Linked DNA regions of Homo sapiens: all the other regions are linked to region 5. Evidence: promoter capture Hi-C in human tissues and cell types (Jung and others, 2019). All regions are on one chromosome and are shown on one strand. Each heading gives the region's core, a stretch centred on a gene start or on the middle of the fragment in contact. The rest is flanking DNA. Distances are from core to core; before and after follow the strand shown.

Region 1 (2,700 bases), core at 58-2,557, 1.4 Mb before region 5:
AAAAGCTTACTGAATCAGATAAAAACATTGCCAGTCTGTCAACACACATAACTTCACAGTTTTTGTTTTTCTTCTTTGTTCCAGTAACATTTCTATAACTTGGGCTGCCCAGGGCTTGCTTGGCATAAACCCACCTGGAAGCTCACGGGTAGAGGGGTTCACAGTAAGAAAATGTAACTGCTGGGTACCCAGAGCCCTTTCATGTGTGAGAAAGTTCTGCTTGCAGGGTGGCAAGGATCAGGATCAGCATGTGCTTTCTATCCACTGGTAAAACGTGGATTGGAGAAATACTGCCTTTTCCTTCAGAATGCTTTGGTGTCTGGACACATGACAAGCCTCAGAAGCTTTGATCTTACTTTAAACTGGTCTCCCATCTTATTTTTATTTGAACAGAGTTTGTGGCAGTCAGAGGATACATAAGGGTGGCGTCCTTTGACCTCCCTGATGTTTGGGAGGTAAACCACCTCCATCCCTCAGACCAGGAATGTAGTCATGTGAATTGATATCTGCAGAGTGCCTGACACAGCTGGAGGGCTAGGCCAAGCCAGCTACAAAAGAACTTGAGGTGTGGGAAAGTTTCTTAGGGCATAGTAATAGCTGTATGGCAAAGCCGAGGATAAAGTTGCTACTGTCTGCTTGTTCATTCACAAGTACTTATTGAGCTTCTGCTATATATTGGGTGATAGGCTGGGCCTGCAAATAGCATAAAACTATTAACTATAGAGTAAAACAGCCTTCCTGCTTTCAAGGAGCTCATGAGAATGAATGAGACAGGTAAGTAAATGGATCACTTAGAACCCAAGAGAGATGGTGATGCAAGAGGAATGAAGAGAGCATTGCAGGGACGTAGAGGAAAAGCGCCAGGATCGAGGAAGCTTCCAGAGGAGGTGAGGCTGAGTTAGGAGTAAAAGGATAAGTGGTGTGTTGCTGCCAGGTGGTGGAAGGAGGGGAAGAACATTCCTTTCCATGGAGGGGCAGCCAGCATGGCAGGTCTGGGGTTGGGGGTGGCTTCTCTCTGAATGTGGCCCAAATACTGTTGACTGTCCCCAGACTGTGTCAGTGTCAGGTGCCTTTTCAGCCACTGACAGTGAGGTGTGGCTGCCTTGTTTGTAGCCTTTGATAGAAGTGTAAGAGACTACGTTCAAGAAATAAACCAAAAATATCTGAATTCAATGGCTAGTAGGTACTTTCTGTTACATCCAGATCTTTTTCTTCTTCATAAACTTTTAAAAGAACAATAACGCAATTATTTCTAATTATGAAGCCAACTCATGGTTATCATTAACATTTCAAGCAACACATAAAAATAGAAAGAAGAAAGCATCCCCCAAGCGCTTCAACTTAGAGGTCACCACTGTTAACATTTTGTGAGCATCCTTCCATATACCCACAGAGAAACACTTCTATAGAAATGGCATGCAGAGCAGTTTAACAGGTGTATTGTGCCAGGGCTGTGCAAAGCACTTGGCAAATAGCAATGAACACAAAAGATAGGGGCCCTGATTAGTGAAGTTTCACCTTCAGGCTTAACTTAGGGTAGACTCCCGCAAAGGTAAAACTGATTGCAAAAACCCATGTGGAGTTGGAGCCCTTCCCATTATAGGGCCTTTGCACAAGCTAGTTTCTCTGCCTGGATTGGTATCTATTCCCAATAGGTATAATTCGATGATATATATAATTAATGAAAGTATGTTTTCTGCTGTATGGTTAAGGCATTGATTCATTATTGTTTTTAATCAATGACATATTGCTAGATTTTTAGCTTGTTTTACTTTTTTCTATTTTAAACAATTCTGTTGCAAATATCCTTTTATATACATTTATCTTAGGATGAATTCCTAAAAATGGAATTATGAGATCAAATAATATGCACACTAAGTTTTTGGTACATGTTACCAAATAGATGCGGCCCTTCTGAAAGTTTCTATCAACAGTATACAAAATACCATTTTCCATGTCCTCTCAAACACCAAAAATCCTCTGTTTATAAAACCTTTGACCATCTGATGAAACTTTACTTTTATTTGTTTGCTAGTTATGTTGACCATTTTTCCTTTGTTTATTCATCCTTTGTATGTCTTCTTTTGTGAATGTCCTCTTTCTATCCTTTGCCTATTTTTTTCTAATGAGATACTGGTCTTTTTCATATTAATGATTTGCAAATGCTCTTTGTATATGGTATTAAGAGCATTAATGCTTAGACTACAATACATGTTGCAATTTTTTTCATGTATCATTTGACATTTTATTTTTATGTTGTCTTTTTGCCATAGAGATGCTAAAATAAACAAACAAAATTAATGTAGTCACATCTAATCACTTTTTCTTTTATGGTTTTGTATTTTTATGTCATCTTCTTCAACCAGTTCTTATCATAGGGGCAAATGGAAAACTTCCCCCTTGCCGTCTGAAGATTTGCTAAAAATCAACTGACAAAAGACAGATTAATAGAAGAAAGGGTATGCAAAGCTATTAATGTGTGTGGGAGTCATATAAAATAGAACTTAAAAAATGTCCAGATGGTTGATGCTTTTATACCATCTTGAAGTTCCAGAAAGAATGGGGGTTTGGTGAGTGGCAAAACATGTATGGGACGGGAAGAGGAATCCTTGCTAGCAAAGGTGGTCTTGTTATGTAGATGAAACTTCAAGGTAGCAGCTCTCAGAGAGGATAGGTGGTGAATGTTTCTTTCAGATCTTG
Region 2 (2,700 bases), core at 159-2,658, 1.4 Mb before region 5:
ATGTTCATTTTTCCCCTCATATATTTCCAGTAATTTCAACACCATATGTTGGAAATTTTTCCTTTTACCACTGAAATGTCTTTGTACCCTTGCTAAAGCCAATTGATCACATATGTGTGATCCATATCTGGACTTTGTATTCCATTCCATTTTTCTAGATGTTTACTTTTATGCTAACCCTACATTATCTTGAGCTCTGTAGTTTTGTAATAATTCTTGACGTAAGGCATATAAGGCCTCCAGCTTTGTTCTTACTTCAAGATTTATTTTGCTATTTTAGGTTCATTGCATTTCCATATACATTTTAGAATGAGCTTATCAGTGTCTACGAAAAGATTGCTAGAACCTATAGATTAATTTGGGAAAAAGTGGTATTTAATAGTCTTGTGTCCTCTACTCTGTGAACACGGTAGGTAGCTCCATTTATTTAGGTCTACTTTAATTTCTCTTAGTAATGTTCTGTAATTTTCAGTAGATGCTGTTTCATAGCTATTGTTAAGGGTTTTTTTTTTTTTTGATTTTGTTTTCCTCTTTTTTTATGAGCAAATAGAAACACAACTAATTATTTCTGTGTAAAGTATTATGCCCCAAAGTCAAGTGGCTTAAAACAACGAGCACTTATCTCTTGCCATTTCTGTGGGTTTGATATTCAGGTGTAGCTTACTTGGTTTTGCTGTGGGTCTCTAATGAAGGTTCAGTCAAGATGTTGACTGGGCCTGGAGTCATCTAAAAGCTTGACTGACGCTGCAGGGTCTGCTTCCAAGATGGCTCACTCATGTGTCTGGCAAGTTGATGGTGACTTGGATAGGAGGCCTCAATTTCTTTACATATGAGCTTCTTCACAGAGCTGCTTGAGTGTCTTCATGACATTGTAGCTGGCTTCTCTCAGAACAAGTGATTCAAAAGAAAGCAAGGCAGAAGCTGCAGTGCCTTTTGTGATCTAGACTCAGAAGTCACATGCCATTATCTCCACAATATCCAATTGGTCACACAGGTCAGCACTATTTTGTATGGAAGGAAACCATACAACGGCATGAATACCTGCAGATGAGGGTCACTGGAAGCCATCTTGAAGGTTGGCTATCACACTTGGTGTGGTGTTTTTTTGTGTTTGCCCTGCATTTCTCATGCTTTTTGAACATGTAGGCTTATTATTTTTATCAATTTTAGAATATTTTCAACTATTATTTCTTTAAATTTTTTTTTACTTCTTCCTCTCTTATCTCTCAATCTGAGACTCCAATTACATGTACGTTAGACTGCTTGTCTGACAGCTTACTAAAGTTTCATTCATTTTTTTCCAGCCTTTTTGCTCTCTGTGCTTGATTTAGGATAGTTTCTATTGCTATATCTTCAAGTTTGCTGGCCTTTTTTCTACAGTGTCTTATCTGCTGTTAAGACCATTAAGTGAATCTTTTTTCACTTCAGATATGTTATTTTTGAACTCTAGAACATTTGTGTGGCTCCTTTTCATATATTCAACTTCTTTATTTATGTCCTTGCTTTCTCTTAAATTGCTGGGTTTTGATAGTAGTTCTTTTAAAGTTCTTGTCTGCTAATTGTACTTCTTAGCCACTTTTGGGTTTATTTCCATTCGCTTATTTTTCTCATGATTAAGGGTCACATTTTGCTACTTCTTGGCATATCTAACAATTTTTTATTGGATGTTAGATGTTAGGAATGTTATATTATTGACTATTTGGATTTTGTTATCGTCTTTTAGAGTGTTGATATTTGCTTTGGCAGGCCGTTACTTGCATATCAGTTTTATCCTTTTGAGCCTTATTGTTAAGCTTTGTTAGGATAGGTCTAGAGTAGCCTTATTGTAGTGTTAGTTTATTCCTACTACTAAGGCTTGGCTTTTCTGTAGTCTTTATTGAATACCTAGATATTCAAATGGAGTCTTTCCACTCCAAGGAATAAAACGTTGAATGTCATTCAGCCCTGAATGAGCTCAGAGAATTGTTCCGATAGAAAACCCCGGCAGTTGTTCTTTGCCTGGATTTGTGGAGTTCACTTACACATGTGCAGTTTTGGATTCAGCCACTCAATGGGACTCTTATGCAGGTTTCTGGCATTCTTCCTTTGTGTAGCTCCTCCTTCTCTGGAATGCTGCCCTGTAATTTCCAGCTGCCTCAGCCTTTCTGAGCTCCTATCTCTCCTCAATTCAGAGAAACTGCCAAGCTCTGCATGGGCCCCCTTTCCTGCCCTGAGGTTAGGAAATTGTTTCCAGGCTGCAAGTCATGCTTTCAGGGATCATAGACCTACACTGCCTCTTGTCTAATGCTGGAAAACAGACATTTTATATATTTCATTTAGTTTTCTAGTTGTTTATGGGTTTTGGAGGAGGGTGTGCAAAGACCATGCAATTACTACTCCTTCATGGAAGGAAGCAAAAGTCCTTCCCCTTTTGATTTTAAAATACATGGCTACTTGGGGGGCTGAGGTGGGAGGATCGCTTGAGCCCAGGAAGTGGAGGTTGCAGTGAGCTGAGATCATACCACTGCACTCCAGCCTGCGTGACAGAGTGAGACCTTGTCTCAAAAAAACAAATAAAATAAAATAAAATAATAAAATACATGGGAAGAAGTATTAAAAGGAAAAGAAAACAATTCCAAATAATAAAACTAGTATTAGCTAGAGTGTATAAAAGCAGGCCACATTAAAAAACTACTGGTTAAAATTTAGATTAGAACAATC
Region 3 (2,700 bases), core at 118-2,617, 1.5 Mb before region 5:
GATACCTTTACAGAGCATATGTAGAACAAAATTGCACAGCACCAAATAAAATCCATTCATAGTAAACCTTGAGACAGTAGAAAGGATATGAATTGATTGGTACAAAAAGTAACAAGGCTAAAGAAATTAGGGTAATAAAACTCCCCTGTAAAATCTAGCAAAGTAGAGAAAAGGGTGGCTATTACCAGGTGAAACATAGCAACTGGAGGGGTAGCCTTTTCTGGAAGTTGATGTAGGTACAGGCATCTCTGAATTCAAGAAAAAAAAAAAAAAAGGCTTTTCTTGTCCATGCTGAAGCTCCTGTTAAAAGACGCGTTAGTGAGCCTCCATCCCTGAATAGCTATGATGCAACTCCACCTCTGACATCCTTAAAGCATTTCCTCTGACGGAAGATCACAAACTTAGCCTATTCAGGTTGACTTGAAGCCTACTACTTCCTGCCTAAACCAAAATAACTATGAGCCAAGTCAAAGGATAAGATAGTTTTGAATCGATCAGTAGAAAAGATGATAATGAGATGGGTGCCATCAAGAATACGTTGCTTCCACAGATGGGTCCCAGAGTCTTCTGCCCATGCTGAGTAAATAGGGCAGGGAGAAAAGACCTCCCAGGAGATATATGTGGATCACGAGCAGTTCTCTGTGACTACCTACTGGCACCCTCCTTCCAGGAATGAACTCACCCACTGACTTCAAGAGAGTGCAGCCCATGCCTGCTGTTGACCACAGTCTTGTTACCAACACCTTATGGTTAACTGAATCAAAAGCTTCCGACAGGTCTAAAATTAGCCCAGCTAAACATATCATTAAGGAGTTAGGGAGGAGTGTGAATGACCTTCCTTCAGCCCTGTCTCCCATATCCAGTCAGCTGTGGGGGCTCATTGGAGTGCTAAATTGGGCTTTTAGGCTCTGGAAATAAATGACCCTTTAGATTGATTTTTTTTATTGCCTGAAGGTGCATATTTTTGGAAAGTTGGGAAGCGTTCTGTTCATCTATTTTGAATCATTTGAGTATAAAAATGTGGCATTTTCACACTTTGGGATATTCAAGTCCCCTATTCCTTTTTTAAAGTCTCTTAATATTTTTTCAAACCTTTCAAATTAGTTTATTTAAAGGCCATATTTGATTTCCTCACAGTTTCTGAGGTAGAAATGTAACTTTACCAGCTTTGAGGGGGAACAGTCATGGTAGTTCACCATATAGAAGTTATAAATAGGTAGGAATACTATTCTAAGCATTACATTTCTGGTAGGAATTTAAATACCCATGGAGAAGAGTGGCAGAGGCAGGGTCTCTGTGTGTACTTTTTTACACATACCTTTAATGGAAAACTAAAAAGTTAATTCTCTTTATCTTTGCTATTCAGGGACACCCTTATCCTCCATTTCTTTCCAAGTTGCCAGGATAAAAAGACCCAGGGGAAGAAAATAAAGATGACATGGTAGCATTTCTGAACTCTTGCTTGACATGAGCCAGACTGGTTCAATTTCTTTACTTTCCAGCCCAATTATTTTGAAATTCATTTGTCTTCTCACTAAGCCAGCATGTCCCAGTGTATGTTTCCTAGAACATCAGGTCTGCAGGATGTTAATAGATGTCACTTGGAAAAAGAGTTTTGAGTTAAACAGATTTCTTTTCTGCTGGGCTTCTTTCTCAGGTTTCCTAGTGTGTGATGTGAATCTTCAAGAAGGAAATATGGTATGTAACATGTCCCAGGTTTGTTGGCCCTGGATGGCCTTCTTTCCTTCCTTCCTCTATTTTCTATTTATTAAACCAAGTATCTACAGGATTGGTGCTTTGGGGAGTGCAGCCTGGGAAGTAATAGGTGATGGTATTTGAAATTTCAGAATTCCATCTCTTTCAGTTGACTGAGCAGCTCAGCTTCCGAAAGTGATCATCTAGACTGGATACTGGTGTGTTCCAGGTCTCCCACCACTGGATGGTGGCCCTGGACAGTCACTTGTCCTCCCTGAGCCTCATGTGTATAAAATTAGAGAGCTGGGCTGAATGGCCTGTAGGGCCACTTATAATACCCCCTCCCCAAGTTCCTGCAAGGTGGACAGTAGTCCTGGGACTCTACTACTCTGCCCCTCAACCACAGCTGCTTGGACTAGGGATAGAATGATGTTATCTGTTCAGGTTTGAGGGATGTACTTTTTTGGTTTCTTCTTTTTTGGATATTGCCAAAAAGTCATCAACAGTCAAAGCATAAATCTAAGAAATTTTAGACTAAAGGAAATCCTTTAATAAAGGGCAGGTATCTGAAAATAGAAGCTTGGCCAGAAAGCGGCTCCTCTGCCAGGATTTTAATGGAGGCTTCACAGTACAGCTAAGGTCCTTTTCATGATTTTTAATTAAAGTGTGTCTATCCTAATGCTGTAATTATAAACAGACTCTTGTCAAGTCAGAGAGCATTTGCCCTTCAATCATTGTATTTCAAGACACTGTCTACTTTTGACAAGTGATAAATGTCTTTAGTTTGGAGTCTACTATAGAAAAATGTAGCTTTTAGAGTTGTGTCATATTCTCTCTGTTTCTTCCCCCTCAAACCCAGAGCCTGCTACAAATATTTGAAAAGCCCTGACTGGATGTAAGGCTCATATTCTATTTGAAGACACCAGACTCTAAACCCCTCTGGGCTTCAATTTCTTGTCTGTGAAGTGAGATCCTGATTATACTGTCTTGGGAGGCACACCACCA
Region 4 (2,700 bases), core at 35-2,534, 1.8 Mb before region 5:
TTTGATTAGACATGTTCTTTTTTTTTTTTTTTTTCTTTTTTTGAGATGGAGTTTCGCTCTTGTTGCCCAGGCTGGAGTGCAATGGCGCAATCTTGGCTCACTGCAACCACTGCCTCCCGGGTTCAAGTGATTCTTCTGCCTCAGCCTCCCGAATAGCTGGGATTACAGGCATGCGCCACCATGCCGGCTAATTTTGTATTTTTAGTAGGGATTGGGTTTCACCATATTGGTCAGGCTGGTCTCAAACTCCTGACCTCAGGTGATCTGCCTGCCTCAGCCTCCCAGAGTGCTGGGATTACAGGCATGAGCCACTGCGCCTGGCCTGACTGGACATGTTCTAAGGAGTGGATGGAAAGATTTGGAGTGAAATCATTTTCTGTGTATACTTTCAATTAATTTCTGTGAGTTCACCCCGAGCCTTGATTTGTACTATACAGAGCCTTATGTCCTGAGAGTGGGAAGAGAAGAGGCAGAGCAACTGCTCTTACAGAAACTTCCCCCTTACCCTCATTCCTCTCTTTTCTGTTTTGTATCTCATCCCTGCCCACTGGTCTACGTGGGACCTGAGCCTCTTTAATTTGCTTTGTTGGTGAATTGTCTCTTTTCTTACTGTATTTCTGCCTGCATCCTCTCTGCACACCAGTTCCAGTAGTTCTGTGACATAACATTCGGGATTTTCCTGATGCAGATTATTGACATCTCTGTTTCCATCTCTTGGATTTAATGCACTTGGTTTTAAGGAGAGGCTTTCTCATACTTTAGTAAGGTTTGCAGTGACTGATAAGGCAATGGAGTTGTTTCTCTTGATCAGAGAAATTTTTTTTTAAAATGTTGGTTGATTTTTTAAAATCCATAATTGCTTAAAACAACATTAGAAAATAGAGACAAGCAAAAAGAGAGGAAAATCATTCACAGTTCTGTCACCTATTTTGGTGTACATTCTTCTAACTAAAAAATGCATCTCTATGTTTATAAGTAATATGGAGTTCTATAAAAGCGATTATGCTGTAGTTACTTGTCTGTCTGTAAAATGTATCTTTTCTCACTTATTAATACAAGATGACTGTATTCTCGGGTCCATAACTATAGATGCACAGCATATTCCATTGTATCAATTACCCATTTTAGAGCATTTAGATTCTTGTCAACATTTTGCTATTTAAACAGTGTTGCAATGAACACGCTTTTGTATATTTATGTTCATTTGTTAGGAAGAATTCTAACAAGTTCTAGAGGCCTTTTGGTTGTCTTTAATCAAAGAGGGACAAAAAGCTGAGGGAAGTGCTGTTGGGACTATGCCCTGGGAAGTGCCAGGCATGTAGCAGGACCTGGGTAAATGTTACTAAGTGAATGAAGGTCGAAGTTAGCATGAGGAGTTTTGGTAACATGGATGAAAAAATAGCTCTGAAGACTGAGGAGACAACTTGGAAACAGAACTTTGTGTTCACAAAGAAGGGTTCTGTGAAACTCTGAAAACCTAGCAGTGTGTTTCATAAGCAACAAGTCTCACCCTTTTATCCAGTTTAGTCACTGAAACAAAATAGAATTTTTTTTAGGTCCAAGTGATTGAACGAATTAGAATACATAATGCCTACTCTTATGTTTGGAATCATCTTCATCTCTCTTTATTACACTTTCCATCATGTATTCTGGTGGTCTACTTTACCCTCTGTTGAGGTTATGGAACAGGGTTGAGGTGAGGAAGTAAATATTTGAAAAATTAAAGCAACTAGCTAGCTGGGAAAAAAAAGAGAAAGTATAAAAATCTTCCTCTTATTCCCTGTTTTCTTTATGTTTCTTTTTCTTTTTTGAAATTTCCAGTCTTTGCTACAGCAGTGTGTTCCTCTCAAGTCACCCACTCGTTCCTCCAGGGGTCATTGGAGAGTTATTATTTTAAGTCTAGTTCCCAGGTATGACTTCCAATGCAGTGAAAGCTTCTACTGAGACTGTCTAAAACATCTCTTGAATCATCTGCCTAGAACACAGCAAGAACCAGGAAATGAGCTGACAAGACTGAGCAAAAGAGGCAGCATCAAGCTGATGAACTGAGGCGTGGGCATTTTACTCATGGGAAAGGCCCTCGGAACCCACGCTGAGCATGCGCTGAAAACAAGTGTGATCAGTGGGTTCCAAACACCCAGCAGATACATGTGAGGGTGATCTGGCTGTGACTTCTGTCACCCCCTTGATTACCAGGGTTGATTCAGTTGATCTGGCTGGCTAGGTGGGTGTCCCTTTCCCCACTTACTGCTCCATGTGTGTCCCTCCTGAATCTGTGCGCTTGGTTGAAGAGGATGACCATCCCGGATAGAGGAGGACCAGTCTTTGGTCAAGGGTATACAAGTAGCTGTGCCCGCTTGCTAGAACCTCCAAACAAGCTCTCAAGGTCCAAACATCCAGCAGATAATTAGCAATGGATTAGAAAAGGGAGCTGGGAAGGTGGAAGGAAGCAGAAACAGTGAGCCCCCGAATGAAAGAGACAGAAAAACTGAAACCTCAGAAGAGAGCAGTGTGGGGCTAATGAACCTAGAGGCAAAGGGCCCTACCCATCAACAGCCCCCATGAAGGTAGTCACTGGGGGGCCTGAGGATGCACCATCAGGGAGAAGTTCAGTTCAATGTAATCTGTGGAAGAAAGCAGAGAGCACAGCCTGTCATGGAGAAGGATTTCCATTCAAAACCATAGATGTCATAGAAGTTT
Region 5 (2,700 bases), core at 83-2,582:
CTCTGCTTTTTAGCATCTTTTCTGAAATCTCCAGATGAACAACATTCTTCGCCCCATCTACTCTTCAGCTCCTTCAGGAGGCAAAGTCCTTTCTTAAACTGTGAAGAGTAGCAGCATAGTCTCTGCAGTGAGATTTTCTGGATCTGAAGCCCTAATCTACCACTCTCTAATTGTGTGGCTTGGAGAGATCATTTAATTTCTCTTAAGCATCAGTTTCTACATCTATAAAATGAGGGAAATAATAATATCTCTCTTATAGAATATATGGAAATATTCGAGGATAGGAAAATGCAGCAAAAAACTGCATTAAACCTGACCCAGTGTCTGACACATAGTAAGGACTCAATAAATGGCAGATACTATAGTCATTTGATTCATCATAGTAATACTGTAGAGGTGGTGGTGGTGGTGGTGGTGGTAGTAGTAGTAGTAGCAGTAGTTAAGTCATTGTGAACTCTGATACTAAGAACTGGGCTCTTGGAAATGGAGTGGGAGAACAGTAACACCAAATATATCCTGTATGCCAGAGGGTTGAAGAACAGACAGAACAGGTAGCTAAATGCAGCCTATTGAGGAATGTTTGAACTTTGGCTTTCTTTAATCATTGCCACATCTTGCTCCATAATAAGGGTAATTGTAATCCTGCTTCAAAGCTATTTCTAAGAAGAAATAGAGCCAAGGCTGGCATCCCTAACTCTACTCTCCTTTAGCCAGGCTGCTCTATCTATGGCAGTGTCCCCTACTTCCCCAGGCCAGGTTAGGAGGGAACAAGAGAGTCCACCCCAACTGCTTTAACAAGCCTGAACCGCCAGGTCAAGAGATGAAGTAATCTTCCCCCTATACGAAGACCAGAGGTGGGGATGGACAAGGTGGCCAAGGCAGCAGCTGAGGCTCAAGGAGCAGATACACTCTCAAGCCTGCTCCCTCCTGCTCCAGTTCCCAGCTCAGCAGGTGCCACTGAAGGGCTCAGTTCTTCAGTCTGCCCCTGCAGAGTGCTCTGCCCTTCCATGTTCTCTGACACCTCTTCTATTCACTCACCTAGGACAACTAAGAAAGTGGCCTCCTTGGTGAGTAGAGCTTCCACAGCCTCTCTCGGGGAAAAGGACCAGAAGCTGTTGGAGTTGGCCAAATGCTTGAAGTTGGCATAAAGTCAATTGGAACCATCACAATGAGAGTCTGTGTGATCAGCCCAAAAGGACTGCACAACTGATTCATGTTCAGTGCCAGGAAATGCAACGGGCCATTCTGGGGTTGGGTCCTCAGTTATTTTTGGCAAAGATGGGTGGTATGCAAAAGGGACTTCCTTTTTTTTTTTTTTTTTTTTTTCCAGCACAGAGCCACAGAATGCTGAGCAGTCAACAGCATTTCTTGTTCCAAGATCACCCTTCTGAGTACCTCTCTGGCTGCCAAATTGCCAGGGCCTTCACAGTTTGATTCCATTTCTCAGCTCCAAGCATTAGGTAAACCCACCAAGCAATCCTAGCCTGTGATGGCGTTTGACGTCAGCTGCTTCTTTTGGGTGGTGCTGTTTTCTGCCGGCTGTAAAGTCATCACCTCCTGGGATCAGATGTGCATTGAGGTGAGTCCAAACTGTTTGTCTTTATGCAGATTAAACTGTCTGAAAATTTTGAGATTTAGCACGCAGTCCAATCTGAGCCTTGGCATCCCAATATCTAGTGTCTTTAAAAAGGAAATAAGGTGTATATATAATTTTTTCATTATTGTGAGAAAGGAGCCAAAGAACTCTGCCAGGGGATCATCTGGTGGCATCTTAATAGGAAGCAAAGAGAATTTTTCTCCTCTTCAAACAATTCCACCCAAATAATCCCAAGTGGGTCATAAGATATTAATAGGGTCTGTGTGCACAAAGCAGACCCCTAAACCTGCCTCAACCTAGGGGAGCTGTTGGTTTAACATCCCCACTCTCACATGGCCTCTATCCCAATGAGTCCTTTGGTCTCCTCTCAGGGTGAGAATTAGTAAAGACAGCGCTGTGCCAGGTTTTCGAGCATTGAAAAGATCACTCTGAATGAGTCTGGCTCTCTCTTGGACTTGGACAGCCTTCCATCTGTTTTACTAACCCATAGGAGGAAAATCTGAGAATAGAGCCAAATTGCACCTTCTGTTTTGGACCATAGCAATATTTATCAACCTGTGGGAAGTTCTTGGAGGGGATAATGAGAGAAAAAGGAGAAGGGCCTCCGTCTCTTGCCATCCTCTAAAATGCTTCAAACTTCCTCCCACTTTCTCTGACCCCACAAGTGATCAATACCACGTGGCCTGTCAGACAAGGGCTGCATACAGGAGGAACCATGAGTCTTGGTGGCTTGGTGAGCTGCTGGTCTGGGTTGAGGTAAAAAGAAGAGTAAGAGCCAGGAATAGCCAGATGTGGAGTTGCCCTGGGGCAGGACTAGAAGGAGATCAGAGGATCAGGAAGAGCAGAGCAAAGCCAGCACTGGGGTAAGGCTCAGAGCTGGGTGAGCAGAGCCTTGTTGGTCTGGCATTAGGATGGAATCAGCAGCAGGCCAAGAGGAGGCATCATGCCAATGAGAAATGAAGGCTGGGAAGGTGTGTGTTGCTTTGCTTGGGCTGTCATAACAAATGCCACAGACTGGGCCAGGCGTGGTGGCTCACGCCTATAATCCCAGCACTTTGGGAGGCCAAGGTGGGTGTATGCCTTGAGACTGGGAGTTCGAGACC

What was found. Contacts are between HindIII fragments. The study calls those that stand out against the background at their distance.
Region 1: a fragment that was not itself captured here is called in contact with the fragment with the promoter of CD180 in region 5 in 1 of the 25 tissues and cell types used here (dorsolateral prefrontal cortex).
Region 2: a contact is called between a fragment that was not itself captured here and the fragment with the promoter of CD180 in region 5, in 1 of the 25 tissues and cell types used here (dorsolateral prefrontal cortex).
Region 3: a fragment that was not itself captured here is called in contact with the fragment with the promoter of CD180 in region 5 in 1 of the 25 tissues and cell types used here (dorsolateral prefrontal cortex).
Region 4: a fragment that was not itself captured here is called in contact with the fragment with the promoter of CD180 in region 5 in 1 of the 25 tissues and cell types used here (dorsolateral prefrontal cortex).

What each region holds. Positions count from the first base shown.
Region 1 is chr5:68,629,868-68,632,567 of GRCh38, reverse strand. The region is part of intron 2 of LOC105379013 (a long non-coding RNA gene); the gene reads left to right. Among named protein-coding and RNA genes, the nearest start is that of LINC02198, 400 kb to the left of the region's middle. The HindIII fragment of the contact is 3,424 bases long and covers 1-2,700 here.
Region 2 is chr5:68,561,912-68,564,611 of GRCh38, reverse strand. The region is part of intron 3 of LOC105379013 (a long non-coding RNA gene); the gene reads left to right. All of the region lies in intron 1 of LOC105379011 (a long non-coding RNA gene), which reads left to right. Among named protein-coding and RNA genes, the nearest start is that of PIK3R1, 350 kb to the right of the region's middle. The HindIII fragment of the contact is 3,292 bases long and covers 1-2,700 here.
Region 3 is chr5:68,724,163-68,726,862 of GRCh38, reverse strand. All of the region lies in intron 2 of LOC105379013 (a long non-coding RNA gene), which reads left to right. Among named protein-coding and RNA genes, the nearest start is that of LINC02198, 300 kb to the left of the region's middle. The HindIII fragment of the contact is 3,096 bases long and covers 1-2,700 here.
Region 4 is chr5:68,970,199-68,972,898 of GRCh38, reverse strand. LINC02198 (long intergenic non-protein coding RNA 2198) reads left to right here. Exons shown (of 4, transcript NR_130778.1): 2 at 1,822-2,700. The region is part of intron 1 of LOC107984116 (a long non-coding RNA gene); the gene reads left to right. It also overlaps the pseudogene RN7SKP251. Among named protein-coding and RNA genes, the nearest start is that of LINC02198, 58 kb to the left of the region's middle. The HindIII fragment of the contact is 4,273 bases long and covers 1-2,700 here.
Region 5 is chr5:67,195,431-67,198,130 of GRCh38, reverse strand. It overlaps CD180 (CD180 molecule), which reads left to right and starts at 1,332. Exons shown (of 3, transcript NM_005582.3): 1 at 1,332-1,579. The coding sequence starts at 1,490. RefSeq lists an enhancer at 2,359-2,508. The HindIII fragment of the contact is 16,000 bases long and covers 1-2,700 here.